Linked DNA regions of Homo sapiens: region 1 is linked to region 2. Evidence: promoter capture Hi-C in 16 types of primary human blood cells and fetal thymus (Javierre and others, 2016). All regions are on one chromosome and are shown on one strand. Each heading gives the region's core, a stretch centred on a gene start or on the middle of the fragment in contact. The rest is flanking DNA. Distances are from core to core; before and after follow the strand shown. Region 1 overlaps HFM1 (helicase for meiosis 1). Region 2 holds the start of HFM1 (helicase for meiosis 1).

The links. The method cuts DNA at HindIII sites, captures the fragments that hold promoters and counts their contacts. A CHiCAGO score of 5 or more calls a contact.
Region 1: a fragment that was not itself captured here is called in contact with the fragment with the promoter of HFM1 in region 2 in 2 of 17 cell types (megakaryocytes and erythroblasts); the score reaches 5.6 in megakaryocytes.

Annotation. Positions count from the first base shown.
Region 1 is chr1:91,279,455-91,285,854 of GRCh38, reverse strand. All of the region lies in intron 30 of HFM1 (helicase for meiosis 1), which reads left to right. Among named protein-coding and RNA genes, the nearest start is that of HFM1, 120 kb to the left of the region's middle. The HindIII fragment of the contact is 410 bases long and covers 2,663-3,072 here.
Region 2 is chr1:91,401,675-91,408,109 of GRCh38, reverse strand. HFM1 (helicase for meiosis 1) reads left to right here and starts at 3,273. Exons shown (of 39, transcript NM_001017975.6): 1 at 3,273-3,312. RefSeq lists a silencer at 3,299-3,678. The HindIII fragment of the contact is 14,376 bases long and covers 1-6,435 here.

The DNA.
Region 1 (6,400 bases), core at 1,618-4,117, 120 kb after region 2:
CCAGGACAGAGTGAAGTGGGACAGCCTGAGATTCTATCATGCTACTCAGAATGATGTACAATTTAAAACTTATGAAATATTTATTTCTGAAAATTTTCATGTAATATTTTCGGACCAGAGTTGACCTTGGGTAACTGAAACTGTGGAAAGCAAAATCATGGATGAAGGGGGCTACTGTATGTAATCATCCAAATCTTAGGAACTTATGCACATCCGTATTGTACAATTCAATTTTTATATGCAAATTTATATATCCCTGGATAAAGATACACAATTATACCTCTAAACCTAACATACATACACTCTTTCTTAGTAACTGACACAATTAAGGGGCAATAGATTACCCTACTAAGGCTGTGACACCAAATTTGGGCCTTTTCAAAACAATCCAAATTTCAGTTGTTCTAATCCCTTGTCAAATGGTGTTATTAAATGATACAAACTGATATTTAGTTCAGAGAATATAATTGCTAAATGGCTATTTCCAAATATGCTTTCAAGTTGAACAAATGTTTCAATTTTGTATATCATCAAATTATAGGACTATATATAAAAACAAAAACATGCACCTTAGGGAATATAAAATAATGAAAAATTCTTTTCATGCTTTCTACAACTTATATTAGTCCGTTTTCATGCTGCTGATAAAGACATAACTGAGACTGGGTAATTTATAAAGAAAATGAGGTTCGATGGGCTCACAGTTCCACGTGGCTGGGGAGGCCTCACAATCATGGCAGAAAGTGAAAGGCACGTCTTACATGGTGGCAGACAAGAGAGAATGAGAGCCAGCCGAAAGGAGAGACCCCTTATAAAATCATCAAATCTTGTGAGACTTATTCACTACCACAAGAACAGTATGGGGGAAACTGCCCCCATGATTCAATTATCTCCCCCAGGTCTCTCCCACAACATGTGGAAATTATGGGAGCTGCAAATCAAGATGAGATTTGGGTGAGGACACAGCCAAACCATATCAAACTTTTTGAAAACATTCTTTTAGCTGCAGTTTCTCACATATGGTTATAGTTCCAAGAGATAAAATTCTTGTATAATTTGAGGAAGAACATTTTTGTTATTTTTAATATATGGCAATGTGAGACATATTTTTAAGTTGTAAAAACAAAAATTAAAAAATTTTCAGGCCTGCTCTCAGTATATGAAGATTAGGCATTTAAACTTCTTATCCTTTAAATGCATTCTAAATAAGAATTACAGGCTTTGCTTAATTTGAAGAAAATCTATTTGACATTAATACATTTATCTTCATTTGCAGTATTATTCTGAATATGAATGTCTTGGAGCTAGGTACAGTGGCTCACACCTGTAATCTCAACAATTTGGGAGGCCGAAGGCAGGCAGATCACCTGAGGTCAGGAATTCCAGACTAGCCTGGCCAATGTGGTGAAACCCCATCTCTACTAAAAATACAAAAATTAGCTGGGCATGGTGGCAGGCACCTGTAATCCCATGTAATACGAGCTACTCGGGAGGCTGAGGCAGGTGAATCACTTGAGCCTTGGGCGGAGGTTGCAGTGAGTTGAGATTGCACCACTGCACTCCAGCCTGGGCAACAAAGGCAAAACTCTATCTCAAAAAAAAAATAATAATAATATAATAATAATAATAATTAATGTAGTTGAATGAATACAAGGATAAAGCCAGTCCTCAGGCACATTGTGTGTACATTTAAATACTAGTTAAAAGGCAGTCTACTTTTCTTTATATTCTTTGGTGTGTATGTGCATTAAGTTGCAAAATCAAGGACTCCAGTTCAGTGTATTCCTTTTCTGCATAAATAAATAACAAAATGATAGTAAAATATTTGACAGAAAAATGAAAAGGAGACTCTCTCATCATTAAAAAAAGTAAAACCATGAATTGCATAAATCTATGATTAGCATAAATGGAGAACTGCAAAAGTGAAAGTAATACTAAAAAAATACTCCAGTAGCTTCTGCACAGACCAAATTATTTGAATTTATAATTAGAAAGTTATGCTAAGTGTGACAGAGATTCTTGCTATTTTTTATTTATTGTCTGGACTTCTTTTTTTAAAGAAGTGACCCTTGCCCCGCCACCTGTTAATGACTCTGTTAAAGTAATTTTAAGTATTTTCTTTCAATACATTTCTATTTGATATTATTAATAAATTTACTTTAAATGCTTGGAACTAGAGACTTTATAACATGTAAATTAATACAATATGTGGCAAAACTATGAAAATATTTGCACCTCAGATTATGACAGTGATGGAATATGGAATCTGCTATCTTTAGAGTATACTTAAGAGTGCAGCTTAGGCTGGGCACAGTGACTCACACCTGTAGTCTCAGCACTTTGGGAGGCCGAAGTGGGTGGATTGCTTGAACTTACAGGTTCGAGACCAGCCTGGGCAACATGGCTGGTCTTTACAAACCCTGTCTCTACAAAAAATACAAAAATTAGCTGGGTGTGGTGGTGCATGCCTGTAGTCCCAGCTACTGAGGGGGCTGAGTTGGGAGGATCACTTGAGCCTGGGAGGCTGAAGTTTCAGTGAGCCGTGATGGTGCCACTGCACTCCTGCCTAGGTGATAGAGCCAGACTTTTTCTCAGAAGAGTACAGCTTAGATTATTTTTTTTCTGAGAACCTTATCTTTCTAATTACCAATATCTGTAAGCTTATATTTGCTAATAAGATAAATTCAGACAATTCTCAGGAGGTAGGGAGGGCGGCAGGGTAAAGGGAGCACTTTTATTTTCAAAGTACCATTCGTAACAAAAATACAGCAAAAAGATTTCGTCAGGTAGTATCCATGTGCTAGTGTTCTATAAACAAACAAACAAAACTTGCATACAGTCCTCATTCCTGACAAGACTTGCCAACTTTGCCTTGAAATTTTTGGGAGCCCTCGGAATCTCTCTAATTAGAGTCCCAGATCCTAGTTGCTGCCACTGGGAGCAAATGTGCTTAGTCATTGTGCACCACCTTGTGGCAGCGTTTAGACATGCATCTTTTTTAGAAGTTCTTTAGTATTTAAGACCCAAAGGCAACTCTTTATTCTTCATTTTAAAACAGCAACTTGCAAAGCTTTTCTTCCAAGTCTTCCCACCTCAAAACAAAGGTTCCTTCTCTAAATAACTTAAATGAATCCTCTGGGAGAGCTAAAGCAACTGGTACAACTAGAGAGAGAATTGTTGATAGATCAGTCTCTGGAATTAGACTACCTTGAATTAGAATCTCAAATTTGCTACTTACTAACAGCATAGTCTTGAGCATCTTACTTAACCTCTGTAAGAATTAATTTTCTCATAGGTGAAATGGAGATATAATAGGAACCTTATAGGCAGACAACCAAGGGTGATGAGACATTTTAGGAAAATGTAGAATGTGTGAAAGTCCAAAATAAGGAAATAGAAAATGGATGAAAGAGCAACAGGATAATTCAGGAATGTAATAAAACCTAATATAAAACTTTAGTAACGTCCGAGAAATTAAAGATTAAATTGCAACCACAAAACTGAATAGGATGCCATTTTAAAATAAAAAGAACCAGAGCAAGCACAGAGAAGCAAAAATTATGTTTGGAAGGAAAACCGGAGGTCTCGAACATAAAGTCAATACCTTCTCAATGAAAGCAAAAAGTCAAGGAGACAGAAAATATAAGAGAAAAGGGGGGCAATTTAAGAACCCAGTATCTAACTTATAAGTGTTCAAGAAAGAACAAACAAATCAGAAGAAATAATTTGAGAAACGTTTTCAGAACTGAAGTGAGACAGAAATCTTCACATTAAAAAGTCTTACTTAATGCTAGTTAGGATGAATGAAAGGTCTACAAATAAAGCTAATTGCAATATTTCAGAACATTGTGGATAAAGACAAAATTGTAAATGCTTACGAGGCACAAAAATTTAAAAATGTAATAGTCTTTTAGTGAGCAATGTTGGATGCTAAAAGTCAATTGATTTAAAATTCCAGGGGGAAGCCAGGCACAGTGGTTTGTGCCTGTAATCTCAGCTACTTGGAAGAATGAGAAGGCAGGAGTGCGTGCGCCCAAGAGTTCGAGGCTGCGGTGAGCTGTGGTCTCACACCTGCACTCCAGCCTGGGTGACAGAGCGAGACCCTGTCTCCAAAACTGTAATAATAAAAAATAAAATTCCAAGGGAAAAATGATTTTCAACCTTATGTTCTATGCCCAGCCAAACTACTAAGTATGAAAGTAATATAAAGATGCCTTAATACATTCAAAGATTCAGAAAATTTTATTCTTATACATCCTTTCTTAGGCAGTTGCTCAAAATTGAGCACCAGTAAAACAAGAAAGAAAAAGCCCAAGAATCCATTTGTAGTAGATTCAGCCCAGGAACTTAATGAAAGGAAGTTCAAAGGTGACAGTTACAGGACAGGTCTAGATTGCATTAGGAGGCAGATAGAGGGTTCAAGGAAGGAGGCATTGATGAGGGGGGAATAAATGGGTGAGGTATTCCCATGTATTTGCTTTTACCCTTCAACTATTGAGTGAACTTAAAGAAACAAGATGGATATTGCTAGACAAAAAGGAAGGCTGCAAAACTTCAGGGGAAGCAATATGCTGCTCAAGAAAGAAAACCACTCCACTTGATTCTGCATTAAAAATATTTTTACCTTCTGTATATCTCTCAAATCAGTCTATTCTCTGTAACTCTACTACCACCACCACTCTGGAGTTACCATGATTTCTGCTTAGACTTGTACTGGTTTTCTTGCATCCTTTCTGTCTTATCTCAAATCTGTTCTCCATATTACACTCTATATGGTGACGTTTTTCACAATGCAGATCTGATTGTGCCCCCTCTTCGGTTAAAACATTTCAGTGGCTTCCCATAGCTCTTAGAATCTAAATCATTAGCATCCCCTAGAAGGTTCTATATGGTCACATGGTCAACCAGTCCCTAAGCAGCAATGTAGTGGTAGCTGCTATGTGGTCTTGCCTCACTTCTGTAGATTTGGCTGGTAAGGACACCCTAATGGATTTAAACAGTTTATTACTTACACAGATGGCAAAGCAAGATCAGCATGGTATTAGCTGCTTACATCCCCAATTCCACAGGATGATACCAAACTAGGGGGGTCAGATGACAGACAACATGAGTGGTGGGTTGCTTTGTTTTTGAGAAGTGAACTCTAGGCTTCAGCTAAGCAGTTTTATCTGAAAGGGGCAAAATGGAAAGTTCCATACCTTAGTGGAATCAGGGAGGCAGATGAGAAACTGCCGCATGGCAAGTCTTCTGCAAGATCGAGGGTCTTCTGCAAGGTATGGAGCAAATGTGAAATGGCCTTTGATAGCTCCTCACAAGACTACCTATCTTGCCATTTTTAAGGATGATCATGGGGCATTCTGCCAACAGTTGAGTCTTACCTACATGGCCTATATGGAGATATGCAATTGCCATGGTGCCATGGTGGAACTGTTCCCCTACAAACATAGGCTGCCTTTACTACCACTATAGTCTCATCTTACATACTTTCTCATATTTGCTAGCATCAGTCATATTGACCTTTCAGTTTCCCCAATGTGCCATGCTTTTCCTTGTCATAGAGCTTTAGCATATGCTATCCCCTCTGCCTGAACTCTAATTTCTCCTCCTTCTTTGCCTTCTTAACTTCCCTTCTTTCTTCAGTGCTCAGCCCAACGTTCCTGACCAGAACAGCTTCACCTGTTACCACATAGCATGATGTACCACTCCTTCACAGCATTCAGAACAATTTTAGTTTAAAATTTATTTGTTTAATCTTGGATTGATGTAATAGTAGAGATAGCGGATATAATATATACATTAATATATTTGTTTATCACTTAATTGTCAATTGTTTTTACATACTTAAATTACATTTTATTTTTACGTCTCTGTGAGGTAAACAGAACAGATATTAAATCTTTTTTCCCAAATAAGAGCCTATATTAGAGCTCATTTTTTTTCTATTTTAGTGTTCCCTGTACTTCACCACTATGTTTTTTCTGTAAATACATTCAATATAAGGCAGCATACAGTAAGCAAGAGGCACAGAGAAAATGCCACAGGGGCCCAAAGGAGAGGGAAATCAGATCAGGTGATCACCATAGACCTCCAACCCAGAGGTGCCATTTGAGTCAGACTTGAAGGTTGGTAGGCATCTGTTGGGCAAGGAAATGAGGGTCTTCTAAGACAAGAGATAGTATCAAAGCTACAGTTATAAAAAGGCATGGAACTATTTGAAGAATGGCAATTGAATGTGTTTTGATGGATGTAGGGCTAATATGGGTCCCAGGAAGGGAAGCTGGAATTGGATCATGCAGGACCTTGAAGATGGAATTGATTTTGCTGGCAGTAGGAAGTAACTCATGTTTCTAAGTGGGCAAATTGGTCTGATCAGCATTGGACTTTAAAAGTATTAAATAAG
Region 2 (6,435 bases), core at 2,024-4,523:
CCCAGGTTGGAGTGCAGTAGTGGGATCACAGCTCACTGCAGCCTGGAATTCCTTGGTTCAAGCCATTCTCCTGCCTCAGCCTGCCAAGCAGCTAGGACTACAGGCACACACCACCACACCTGGTTAGTTTTTAAAATTTTGGTAGAGATGAAGTCTCGCTGTGTTGCCCAGCCTGAGACTAATTTTTCAATATCAATTTCTACTGACTAATCAGGGTGTAAAAGATGTGGATGTTACAAAGTGAAGAAAATTTTGGTTATGTTGGATACATCAGCTAGAACTCATGGCATTGGCTGTAATAGCATTACCATATGTCCCAGCAATTCCACTCCTAGGTACATATCCAAAGGAATTGAAAGCAGGGACTTGAACGGAGATATTTACACACGAATGTTCATAGAAGCATTATTCACAATAGCCAAAAGGTGGAAATGTGGAAACAACTCAAATGTCCCTTAGCCAGGATTACAAATGGATAAACAAAATGTGGTATATAAATACAATAGAATATTATTGAGCCTTAAAAAGGAGTAAAATTCTGATCCATGCTACAACATGGATGAACATTGAAAACATTATGCTAAGTGAATAATCCAGAAATAGAAGAACAAATATTGTATGATCCCACTTATATGAAGTACTTAGGATAGGTAAACTCATAGAAATAGAAAGTAGAATAGAGGTTACCAGGAATTAGGGAAAGGGGAAAAGAAGGAGTTCCTGTTTAATGGGCAGAAATTTCTTTTTTTTTTTCTTATACTTTAAGTTTTGGGGTACATGTGCACAACGTGCAGGTTTGTTACATAGATATACATGTGCCATGTCGGTTTGCTGCACCCATCAACTCGTCATTTACATTAAGTATTTCTCCCAATGCTATCCTTCCCCCAGCCCCTCACCCCCCAACGGGCCCCAGTGTGTGAAGTTCCCCTCCCTGAATGGGCACAAATTTCTTGTTGGGGATAATGAAAAAGTTTTGGGTATGGATAAGAGTGATGGTTATACAACACTATGAGTGTATTTAATGTCCCTGAATTATACACTTATATATGGTTAAAATTATAAATATTACGCATGTTTTACCACAATGAAAGAAAGAAAGCGCGCCTTCTAGTGGGAGCTGGGTGCAGAGAGAGCTCTGTATTCTTGGCTGCAGCTGTCTAGAATGGAGCCTGTCTTGCTAAGCTGGAACTTGGGAGTCTTGGATAAAATACCACAGAGCCTTGCCTTTCTTACCAAATTTTTGTATCTCTTTCTTGAAAAGATGTTTCTTCTTTTGCTGTTTGCCCTTAGGATCATTTCCAGAGGGTCTGAGTCATTTTTCTAGAATTTTCACCAGTTTCACTGAGAAGTGAGGTAGCAAAGCTCTTTATGCAGTCATGCCAGAAGTTGACCGGGAAGACTATATTTCAAATGTTAGTTATGTTATTCAATTTGGAGGATTGCTTATGACATTGTTGCACTGGTTGTAAAATTAAATCTTTAGGATTAAAATGTTTTCTTGAGAAATGTGGCAACATTACTAAAAACCATGGTAATCCCTCCCCCCAAAATGGGATTTTTAGTAACTTTATCACTGTCCTGAGGCTTCCTTTTAAAAACTGCAGCTTTGACATTTTTATTACATTATTTTAAGAGAAAGTAAGGCTCTATAGATTCCACATGCATTCTTGAATAAATGAGTGAGTGAATGAATGAATGTTTTTGTTTATGAACATGGTGGCCATTTGCTACTGTGTGCTTTGACAGTAAGACTCCCCTGTACCTGCCTGTTGCTGAATTCTACAATTCTATCACTCAAACCCTATCTTAGTTCAAGCTGCTATAACAAATTACCATAGGCTGGGTGGCTTAAACAACAAACATTTGTCACAATTTTGGTGCCTGAGAAGTCCAAGATCACAGTGCAGGCAGATCCGGTATTTGGCGAGGGCCTCCTTCCTGGCTTGCAGATACCGTCCTCCTGTATCCTCACATGGTAGGAAAAGAGCGAGCTAACTCTCTGGCCTCTTAAAAGGGCACAATCCTACTCATGAAGGCTCTACCCTTTTGAGTTAATTACCTCACAAAAGTCCCACGTTCAAATATCATCACATCGGGGGTTAGAATTCAATGTATGAATTTCAACACATTGAGGGGTTCACTATAACAAATGCACTGTTTCGTTATTTTCCTCTATGCAGTCTATGGAAAGTAACTTTCCTCTCCAGTATTTTTGAGAGGAATGATAATTCAACCTTTCTATTAAGAATAGTTTATGCAGTCAAAATGTTATTTTCTCCAAGAGACAAAGACTTGTTATTTTATCAGTATCCAAATAACTGGCTCACCCAATTACTGGAATAATTTTACATTTCAGAGAAGGTGAAAGAAATTAATATTCATGAGCATTTACTGTGTGGTAGGACTACTGCAAATATTATTTTATTTAACCCTTGCAGCAGTATCTAGGAGTTAGAGCTTATGAGTATCACTGAGGATGCAGAATTAAGACTTAAAGGTTGGGTCTTTTCCAAGGTCATATAGCTAATGAACAGTAGAACTGCAAGAAAAAAGAGAACAGGAATAGGGCAGTCAGACAGCAGTAGGTTGGCCCTAGATGTCACAGGTGGGGGTTTCCAAAGGAAAGATAAATGTCTCTGTAAGAAAAGCATCATTGATTCGTTGCTATTTTATCATCTACAAAACATTCCCTGCCAAATCTTCAGAGGACAATTCTAAAGAAACTTAAAAGGATAATTTATAGTTTGTTCATGTTTACAGCCTAAGAACACATTATTGCCCTGTTTTTATAAATTCATGTTGGCTAAACACATTTAAATATCATTGTGTTTTAGAATATTTATTTCTGAAATTTAACTTTATTTCTGAATCAAGTTCCCCAGTAATACCGACCTCATGAGTGCCACTGTGATATTTTATAAATAATATAGGTAAAACACTTTTTAGGTACGAAGAGACCGGAAGTCCCAGAGCTGAGGCCTGGCTAACTTTGATGAGAAAGGCAGGTTGGGGTATGTTTGTGGAGTGGTGGTTGTGGGGGTAGAGAAGCAGGTTAGCTTAGGGAAAGGGTACCATTTAGTAGACCCTTAGAACCCAGGATTAGGAGCTGTATTTAAAGAGAATAGACACAGTAAACTGCAAGAGATATATTCAAAACCAGTTATAAACTTTCGGAGAAAAAAAGGTAGGAAGGGAGAGGTTGGGGGCTTGGGCGATCCATTGCTTGGAGCTCGGCTTAGCCAGGCTTGGCGGTCCTCAGAGGGGCTGATAAATCGGCGCTCGACTGGCCTAGGAGCTGTCCGCAGGGAGGTGAGGAGAGGGGCCCGGACGCCCGCGGGGAAGGTGGGGACGGGGGCCCGACGCCCGCGGGGAAGTGGGGACCCAGCCGAGCCGTCCGGGCAGCGGTCGATCTCTAGAGCCGTCTGCCGGGCAGGCAGCGGACGGGCGCGGCGAGTTGTTGGTCACCAGGCGTCTCCAGGCCGCCGGCCCGCGCCAGCGCCTCAGCCGCATTTCCAGTCAGAAAGCGGTGAGGCCTGCGGCGCGCTCGGGCGCAGGGCGGGCCCAGCTCCCCGCGAGGTGGGACCGGCTGGGCGTCCGGCCCGCCCCTAAAGTCGGCTGATTGGTGTTCGGTTCCTGTGTCTTGTGTTCCGGTGTGTGGCGCCCCCTGAGCGAGCGCTGGGGGGGACGTACCCATCTGTCTGAGCCGCGGGTTTCACAGCGGTGGGAGGAAACGGGACCCGGGGGGTGGAGTGACGCGCCCCAGCGCCCCGTTCTTGTGCCACTCTCGGGGCCCTAAGGCCTCTGCCTTGGATTTAGGATATTCTCCTTAGGAAATCCACAGAGCTGTTATTTTGCTTTAGGTGCTGATTCGGTCCCCAGCCGGACCCTTCCAGCCAGCCCTGTTGGTGCCTGGGGAGAGGGGGTGAGATCTGGGGCTCCGACAATTGTATGGTCCTTTCCCAGGCCGAGCCTCGGAGTAATTTGTTCCCGTTGATTTTTCCTTCTTTGTCAGATTCTCTGCAGTTATTTGTGACGGTCGGTTATTCCCGTAAATGTTGGTCCCTACTTCTTCCTTAACTCACAAAAATTTCTAGCAAATCAATAATTTTTATCTGAGTTTCTGTACTTTTAAAATAAGGAGTATGTTTCTGAGTAAAAATTGTAAGAAGTAATAGGCCTGCAATTTTATACAATAAGTTTATACAATAATTGTATACAATAATTTTATACAATAAGTAAAGATTACAGAAGACAAAATGGTGAATTGTCATTAATATAACTAAAGATTAATTGTATCTAGTTGTATTAATATTTAACTAGAGATTGTCATTAATATAACTAGAGAAGGTCGGCACCGCAAATTATGTAGACTCAAAAATAGCTTAAGTATTTTAACAGTGATTATAGCAGAGCAGACACTTAAAACTACCTGGGATGATATTGTTTATTGTGTTTGGCAATCTAATTTTGTGCCACGTGCTGAAACTAAAACTTTAATAATAAATAATAGGAACTTAAAAAATCTGAATCTAAACCTAGAACTTTAATTAATTTAAAATAGCATCCCCTCACATCACAAACTCATACTGAACTGTAGCAAGGTCCCTTTTAGGACCTGTGTTTCTTTTTTAAAAAAAGATTTACATAATGAAAGTGCCAAATTCATCATCTTTTAGAACCTTCATGATTTTATTTACATAAATCCTGAACTAGAAAAAAATTTCACATTTTTTAACTGAACGTTGAAGATTGGGGCTCAAATTTTAAGTTTCTAAATTAACAGAAAATTATTTTTATTTGACACTATTTTTATAAACTGGTTCTTGCTAATGCATTTATTCCACAATGCATTCTTATGGACCATTTACTGTGTGCCAGGCACTATTCTGGGTTATTGGAACACATTAATGAGCAAAAAGTCCCTGCTTGCTCTAAAGGGAGAAACATAATAAACAACTAAGCATATACTATAATGTTAGTTATCAGTTCATGCTATGAAGAAAAATAATGCGGAATGAGAGGATGCAGTTTTAGATAAGGGGTGTTTTTTCACAGGAGTATATAAGAACTAAAATATGTACATGATATTTTTATTCTGAACCCAAACAAGTTATATTCTTGTATGCTAGAACTAGAAATCAAAAATTCTTTTGAAAATATTTGCTGTTTGTATAGGAGGTTTTTGTCAGTTTATGCAACGCTTTTCTTCCCAAATGTTTTAAATTTGTAGTTTTGTTGTCTATTTGTAGTTGCTTTAGGAAGAAAGTATTCAAGTGTATAAATGTTAGCCTTAAGATTTTTGACTTAAATTCTGAGGTAGCAAAGCCATATGAAACTGGTCTGGTGAGGTTTATTTTAGGAAAAGTTTCTTTTGTTTGAACATAGTTTTCCTAAAACTAGAAAGGGAACATTTTATTTGTTACTTTTTGGGCAATATAAAAACATGATTAACATTTTCATTTATACTTTTTCAGATAATTGTTTTCAAGTTCTGAAATTGTTTACTTAAAGCTGTTAAAGACTTCGCATATTTCTGAATGACTCCCTCTACCTCCTGCCCTATTATCCTAGGCTTCTATTTTTCGTATAGTCAAATTGTTTTAGACATTTATAGAACCACACTAGTTTGTTTCATTTTTACTACTTGTTTTTGTTGGTAACTGATTAATAGATAGAGAAAAATGAAGAGGGCAATTATATTAAACAGATGGAAGGGGGAAGAACCCAATAACGAAAACAGTGAAAAACCCCACAATATTCTATATCAGTAAGAACAGCCCTGAAGTATATATACAGGTTTAGTTCTCATACAGTAGCATTTGTCAAGTGTTGTATGTGGAAACATTCTCCCTTCCCCATATCACTCCCACTTGTATCTCATCCCCACATCAAGGAGGATTCAAAATTGGAGAGACATAATCTGACTTGGTAATGCGTATTTCTCCACTAGATGGCATTAATAGAATTTCTTTGATTGTAGTTTCTATCTTGAGGACAAATTTACAATGTATTAACTAAAACAGAAGAAACAGAAATGTGATTTATGTTTTACAGTTTGTTCGTCTGATTTTATGGTTTGTCATATAGAATGTTCTATGATGTTTAAGAATTTAGAAAAAAATAGGATATGCAGGGAAAAATAATTCTAATGGGAGCAATGTATGTATCTAGAGACTAGTTTTTTTTTTTAATCACATTTGCATCTTTGTTCAGCCCCAGATTTTTGTTATGTTCAAAGGTGGCCAATGCTGAATGTTTTTATCCTTTATGTTTAGATAATATCTCTGAGTGCAAAAATTATCTTTTAAAAAAGAATGTAAACGTGTGTAGTATATGCATTAACTCATATAAATAAATATGCATATGTATGTTAAACTTGTAATTTTTTTATTTTGAAAAAGTTCAAACCTATGAAAAAATATTATAATGAAC